Regions from separate parts of the Homo sapiens genome. Here region 2 is linked to region 1. Evidence: promoter capture Hi-C in human tissues and cell types (Jung and others, 2019). All regions are on one chromosome and are shown on one strand. The core of a region is centred on a gene start or on the middle of the fragment in contact, and the rest is flanking DNA. Distances in the headings are between cores, read along the strand shown.

Region 1 (3,629 bases), core at 324-2,823:
GACTAACTGGGAAAAGTCAGTCAGAGTTTAGTTTGAGGTGAGAAGTGCTTACTGTTGACACTCTACCTAATTATAGGGAAATGTGTGCAGTTAGTCCTGAGACCAGATGCAGGGTTGAAAGAAAGAGGTGTGATGTAGCAGCCATTGATTAGGCAATTTGGGTTTAGCAAGCCCAGTCAATGCCCTCAGAGGGTCAACAGTGTATAAGATTTAGTCCTTGAAGGCATCTTTTAAAGTTTCATTCAGAAGATTTTAATAATTTTGACCATAATTTTCTGAGAAGAGGCTTTTCTGAGATTTGTCATTCACAGATAAACAGTTGTCTAATTTGTGTGTGTGTGTGTGTACATGTGTGCATGCGTGCATTTGTGCATGTGTGCCTATCTAGCCTCTTTTGAACACAATGGTAGATTGGCACCTGGTAGATAATATTGTTGAATGAATTGTATTATTCATATTATCTCACTGCCAATTTGAAGAATCTACATTCTGTTTCCAAAGTTTTGTGCATATAATACTAAACCAGAAACAGACGTGTTTTAGTAATACGTACCAATTACAAATTAACCATTCCTGCCTGGAATAAACACAGGTTTTGTTAAATAGCTCAATTTTCAAAATTTGTCTCATGTTATTTCCAATCCTTTTTTTTTTAACGCCGATATATTTTGAATTTACGAATGTGAAAGCTGAACTTCAAAAAAATAAAGGGAGAGGAAACAAAGCTCGTGAAAAATTTTAAAAATATCTTTTAATGCGTTATAACATCCTGGAGAGAAATCAAATCAATGTGTTTCAATGTTACAATATAGATTTCTCCTCCCCTCCCGGATAAAGCACTAATTTATTTAATTTGGTTCAGAGCACTGAATATTCCAAGCTACAGCCTTGTGGGTAAGAGCATTATCTTAAAGAGTGTTCGGATTTAACAAAGGTCAATGTCTTGTGCAGTTTACATAGTATCTACTCTCAGTAGCTTTTGCTTCTTGAGCTCTAGGTGGCTCCTCAGAAGCTGTTAGGCTTAACAAACAAAAATAAAGTAAAATCAGACACGGTATGGGGCCTTGGGACTCTAAAACCTTCATCCGGAGAAAATCAGTTAAGCCTTCAGAGACTAGAAGAGAGAATGTGTGTGATTGGTAGGCAAAGCAAAGAAAGATTAACACAAGTTGTCTGGCAGCTGGATAAAACCTTACACCTGCGCAAAAATAAGCCTCCCTCGTAAGAAAGCCCAAAGATGTCCGGGGTCCGGGAGGAGAAAAGTGTTTCTCATCTGTCCCATCAAAGCAAATTAGTGAAACCTGCCTCAGGTGAAGTGCAAAGGCCAGTCTGTAGGCAGAGTTTCGACCTCTCCCCACGAGATTGGCTAGACATCACCTGCCCAAGCTCTCTCCCGACCTGCTAGAGCCGAGAGGGCGGAGGCCGGAGAGGCTGCAGCCGGGAAGTAGCACCGCCACCGCACATCCGGGAACGCCAGCAGCCGGCTGAGGGCTGCATAACTGATGGAGGGCCGGGCGCGGTAAGAGCGTCTCGGGGGAGTGGGGCAAGGCGGCCGGGCCCCTCCCATTCCGCCTTTTCTTCAGCGTCCTACCCGCGGCACTGGCTGCGAGCGCCGGGCCACCTGCGAGTGTGCGCAGGGACTCTGGACACCCGCGGCGGCGAGCTGAGGGAGCAGTCTCCACGAGGACCCAGGCGGACCCTCTGGCGCCATGCGCGCCCTCCCCGGCCTGCTGGAGGCCAGGGCGCGTACGCCCCGGCTGCTCCTCCTCCAGTGCCTTCTCGCTGCCGCGCGCCCAAGCTCGGCGGACGGCAGTGCCCCAGGTGTGATGGGTACAGGGTCCAGGGTAGGGAGGGCGGAGGGCGCGCGAGGCTCGGGTCCCCGCGGGCAGAGGGCATCGCCGGCGCGCCGGGCAAGGGTGGCGGGGAGAGGCGCGGGGATGCTGGTAAGGGCGGGTGGGAGAGTCGGCGGCGGCCTCCCATTAGCTACGTTTGTGTCACCTAAGCTGAACCCTGAAACTGCTGCGGCTCGCGTTCCTGCGCTCTTTGGGGCGAGTCTTGAACGAACAGCGCCCCGCGAGTCGGGCGCGTAGGTAACAGGGCAGAGTCTGGTTTTTCCTAGGAAGAAGGCAGTGGGGTGTGTGGGTGGTTGCAGGGACCAGCTAGCGACTTGGCTTGGGCAAATATGGCATGAATTTTGAAAGCCACATTTCCCCAAGGCCTACTCCCTTTTCTTGATTCGAGAGTAAGGCTCGAGTATCACCTCCTTCCCTCCTCTTGGCAGGTGGGTTGGCTTTGAGGATTTTTTTTTTTTTTTTTTTTTTTTTTTTGAGACGGAGTTTTACTCTTGTTGCCCAGGCTGGAGTGCAATGGCGTGATCTCGGCTCACCGCAACCTCCTCCTCCCGGGTTCAAGCGATTCTCCTCTGTCAGCCTCCAGAGTAGCTGGGATTACAGGCATGCGCCACCACGCCGGGCTAATTTTATATTTTTAGTAGAGACTGGGCTTCTCCACATTGGTCAGTCTGGTCTCGAACTCCCAACCTGAGGTGATCCGCCCGCTTCGGCCTCCCAAAGTGCTGGGATTACAGGCGTGAGCCACCTCACCTTGCCGAGGATGTTTTTTTAGAGCTGAGTAGGGGAAAAAACATCATAACCAACTAGCCAACCAAAGATCCACAACTTACAGGATAACGTGTGTGTATCTTCATTTTACACCGTGGTCTTTGAAAACAAAATGTGTGTGTGCATGTGTGTGTGTGTATGTGTGAGATTTTTGCTTGTTGTTTTATTGTTTAAGACACTTTGACAGAGGGATTACGTGCAAAACATTAACAAAGCCAACACGAAAGTTGCCATTCTACCTTCACCTGTTTATAATTACTTTTCATATTGAAAGGATTCCATCCAACCTATTGCAAGTTTCTGTGTCATAAATGTTACCAGCCAGTAAGGGTAATAAAAGACCACCTCTCAAGCTGGTAAATATTGGCCACCAGTAACTAAAATTGGGACATTATTCTGCAAAAAGTTTTCAAACTCTCATGGGAATTTATTTTCATGGGCTTGTAAGATGTGGAATTTTTGTAACACACCATAGAGAAGGAAGGATAATCAAAAGGTAAGACTATTAATTTTTATAAATGCCTTTTAAAACGTCTAGTTGTTAACAACTTGGACAGAACATCGTGGGTTCCTTCGCAGATTTCCTTGTGCCACATCTCTTTTCCATAATACCACTTATAAAGAATTGTCCAGGCCTGTAATCCCAGCACTTTTGGGCGCTGAGGTGGGAGGATGGCTGGAATCCAGGAGTTCAAGACCACCCCGGGCAACATAGCAAGGTCCCTTCTTTATTAAAAAAAAAAAAAAAAAAATTAAAAGTGCGGTTGTGGTGATGTACACCAGTAGTCCCAGGTGCTTGGGATGCCAAGGCAGAAAGATTGCTTCAGTCCAAAGTTTGAGGCTGCAGTGAGCTATGATGGTGATGGTGCCACTAAGCTCCAGCCTGGGTGACAGTGCAAAACTGTCTCAAAAAAAAAGAAAGAAAAAGAAACAGAATTGTCCAGGACATTTTTCCCCCTTCTGGGTATCTCCAATTCTTCTATCCCTGGTTCACCTCAGAGTATTGCA
Region 2 (3,629 bases), core at 788-3,287, 72 kb after region 1:
CCCTTTCCCAGAAAGCCTGACACCCGTGTCTTTAGTCTGGCGGCCATGCTAGTCACTTTTAACCAGCCAACAGGTGCCTGGTATTTAGCCCCTGAATTCTAAGGAAAGATAGGACAGAATAGCAAGTGAAAGGGGTCCAATGGTACTCACTGCTTGGCAATAGGTGATTGTCTCGCTGCTCAGCTATAGGCGATGGTCTCATCGCTTGGTGATAGGCAAATGTCCCTTCGTGGTTGCCAAAATGTGTCCGGAATTGGTGGGTTCTTGGTCTCACTGACTTCAAGAATGAAGCTGCGGACCCTTGCGGTGAGTGTTACAGCTCTTAAGTTGGTGTGTCTGGAATTTGTTCCTTCTGATGTTTGGATGTGTTTGGAGTTTCTTCCTTCTGGTAGGTTCGTGGTCTCGCTGGCTCAGGAGTAAAGCTGCAGACCTTTGTGGTGAGTGTTACAGCTCTTAAGGCAGCACATCTGGAGTTGTTCATTCCTCCTGGTGGGCTCGTGGTCTTGCTGGCTTCAGGAGTGAAGCTGCAGACCTTCATGGTGAGTGTTACAGCTCATAAAAGCAGTGTGGACCCAAAGAGTGAGCAGTAGCAAGGTTTATTGCAAAGAGCGAAAGAACAAAGCTTCTACAGTGTGGAAGGGGACCCAAGTGGGTTGCCACTGCTGGCTCAGGCAGCCACATTTTATTCTCTTATCTGGCCCCACCCACATCCTGCTGATTGGTAGAGCTGAGTGGTCTGTTTTGACAGGGTGCTGATTGGTGCATTTACAATCCCTGAGCTAGACACAAAGGTTCTCCATGTCCCCACCAGATTAGCTAGGTACAGAGTGTCGATTGGTGCATTCACAAACCCTGAGCTAGATACAGGGTGCTGATTCGTGTGTTTACAAACCTTGAGCTAGATACAGAGTGCCGATTGGTGTATTTACAATCCCTTAGCTAGACATAAATGTTCTCCAAGGCCCAACCAGAGTAGCTAGATACAGAGTGTCGATTGGTGCCTTCACAAACCCTGAGCTAGACACACGGTGCTGATTGGTGTATTTACAATCACTTAGCTAGACATAAAGTTTCTCCATGTCCCCACCAGACTCAGGAGCCCAGCTGGCTTCACCCTGTGGATCCCACACCGGGGCTGCAGGTGGAGCTGCCGGCCAGTCCCACACCATGCACCCACACTCCTCAGCCCTTGGGTGGTCAATGGGACTGGGCACCATGAAGCAGGGTTGGCGCTCTTTGGGGAGGCTCGGGCCACACAGAAGCCCACAGAGGGGGTGGGAGGCTCAGGCATGGTGGGCTGCAGGTCCCAAGCCCTGCCCCGTGGGAAGGCAGCTAAGGCCTGGCGAGAAATTGAGCACAGTGCCAGTGGGCTGGCACTGCTGGGGGACCCAGTACCCCCTCTACAGCCGCTGGCCCGGGTGCTAAGCCCCTCAATGCCTGGGGCTGGCAGGGCTGGCCGGCTGCTCCAAGTGCAGGGCCCACCAAGCCCACACCCACCCAGAACTCCAGCTGGCCTGCAAGCACCATGTGCAGCCCCAGTTCCCACTCGCGCCTCTCCCTCTACACCTCCCTGCCAGCTGAGGGAGCCGGCTCCGGCCTTGGCCAGCCCAGAAAGGGGTTCCCACAGTGCAGCGGTGGGCTGAAGGGCTCCTCAAGTGCTGCCAAAGTGGGAGCCCAGGCAGAGGAGGTGCCAAGAGTGAGTGAGGGCTGTGAGGACTGCCAGCATGCTGTCATCTCTCATAAGGACTTGCTTTATGAATCTGGGTGTTCCTATATTGGGTGCATATATATTTAGGATAGTTAGCTCTTCTTGTTGAATTGATCCCTTTACCATGATGTAAGGGCCTTCTTTATCTCTTTTGATCTTTGTTGGTTTAAAGTCTGTTTTATCAGAGACTGGGATTGCAACCCCTGCCTTTTTTTGTTCTCCATATACTTGGTAGATCTTCCTCCAATCCTTTATTTTGAGACTATGTGTGTCTCTGCATGTGAGATGGGTTTCCTGAATACAGCACACTGGTGGGTCTTGACTCTTTATCCAATTTACCAGTCTGTGTCTTTTAATTGGAACATTTAGCCCACTTACATTTAAGGTTAATATTGTTATGTGTGAATTTGATCCTGTCATTATGATGTTAGCTGGTTATTTTGCTCATTAGTTGACGCAGTTTCTTCCTAGCCTCAAAAGTCTTTACAATTTGACATGTTTTTGCAGTGACTGGTTTCGGTTTTTCCTTTCCATGTTTAGTACTTCCTTCAGGAACTCTTTTAGGGCAGGCCTGGTGGTGACAAAATCTCTCAGCATTTGCTTTTCTGTGAAGTATTTTATTTCTCCTTCCCTTATGAAGCTTAGTTTGGCTGGATATGAAATTCTGGGTTGAAAATTCTTTTCTTTAAGAATGTTGAATATTGGCCCCCACTCTCTTCTGGCTTGCCTAGTTTCTGCCGAGAGATCCGCTGTTAGTGTGATGGGCTTCCCTTTGTGGGTAACCCAACCTTTCTCTCTGGCTGCCCTTAACATTTTTTCCTTCATTTCAACTTTGGTGACTCTGACAATTATGTGTCTTGGAGTTGCTCTCCTCGAGGAGTATCTTTGTGGCATTCTCTGTATTTCCTGAATTTGAATGTTGGCCTGCCTTGCTAGATTGGGGAAGGTCTCCTGGATAATACCCTGCAGAGTGCTTCCCAACTTGGTTCCATTCACCCCATCACTCTCAGGTACACCAATCAGATGTAGATTCGGTCTTTTCACATAGTCCTATATTTCTTGGAGGCTTTGTTCATTTCTTTTTATTCTTTGTTCTCTAAACTTCTCACTTCATTTCATTCATTTCATCTTCCATCATTGATACCCTTTCTTCCACTTGATCGAATCAGCTACTGAGGCTTGTGCATTCATCACGTAGTTCTTGTGCCTTGGTTTTCAGCTCCATCAGTCCTTTAAGGACCTCTCTGCATTGGTTATTCTAGTTAGCCATTTGTTTACTTTTTTTTCAAGCTTTTTAAGTTCTTTGGCATGGGTTCGAACTTCCTCCTTTAGCTTGGGGTAGTTTGATCATCTGAAGCCTTCTTCTCTCAACTTGTCAAAATCATTCTCCATCCAGCTTTGTTCCATTGCTTGTGAGGAGCTGCATTCCTTTGGAGGAGGAGAGGTGCTCTGATTTTTAGAGTTTCCAGTTTTTCTGCTCTGTTTTTTCCCCATATCTGTGGTTTTATCTACCTTTGGTCTTTGATGATGGTGATGTACAGATGGGGTTTTGGTGTGGATGTCCTTTCTGTTTGTCAGTTTTCCTTCTAACAGTCAGGACCCTCAGCTGCAGGTCTGCTGGAGTTTGCTGGAGGTCCACTCCAGACTTGTTTGCCCGGGTATCAGCAGCGGAGGCTGCAGAACAGCAGATATTGGTGAACCGCAAATGTTGCTGCCTGATCATTCCTCTGGAAGTTTTGTCTCAGAGGAGTACCCGGGTGTGTGAGGTGTCATTCTGCCCCTACTGGGGGGTGCCTCCCAGTTAGACTACTTGGGGGTCAGGGACCCACTTGAGGAGGCAGTCTGTCCTTTCTCAGATCTCCAGCTGCATGCTGGGAGAGCCACTACTCTTTTCAAGGCTGTCAGACAGGGACATTTAAGT

The links. Contacts are between HindIII fragments. The study calls those that stand out against the background at their distance.
Region 2: a contact is called between a fragment that was not itself captured here and the fragment with the promoter of EMB in region 1, in 2 of the 25 tissues and cell types used here (H1 embryonic stem cells and mesendoderm cells).

Annotation. Positions count from the first base shown.
Region 1 is chr5:50,439,232-50,442,860 of GRCh38, reverse strand. It overlaps EMB (embigin), which reads left to right and starts at 1,573. Exons shown (of 9, transcript NM_198449.3): 1 at 1,573-1,821. The coding sequence starts at 1,710. RefSeq lists silencers at 1,630-1,759, 1,840-2,029. The HindIII fragment of the contact is 6,914 bases long and covers 1-2,596 here.
Region 2 is chr5:50,367,368-50,370,996 of GRCh38, reverse strand. No RefSeq gene overlaps it. Among named protein-coding and RNA genes, the nearest start is that of EMB, 72 kb to the left of the region's middle. The HindIII fragment of the contact is 4,770 bases long and covers 1-3,629 here.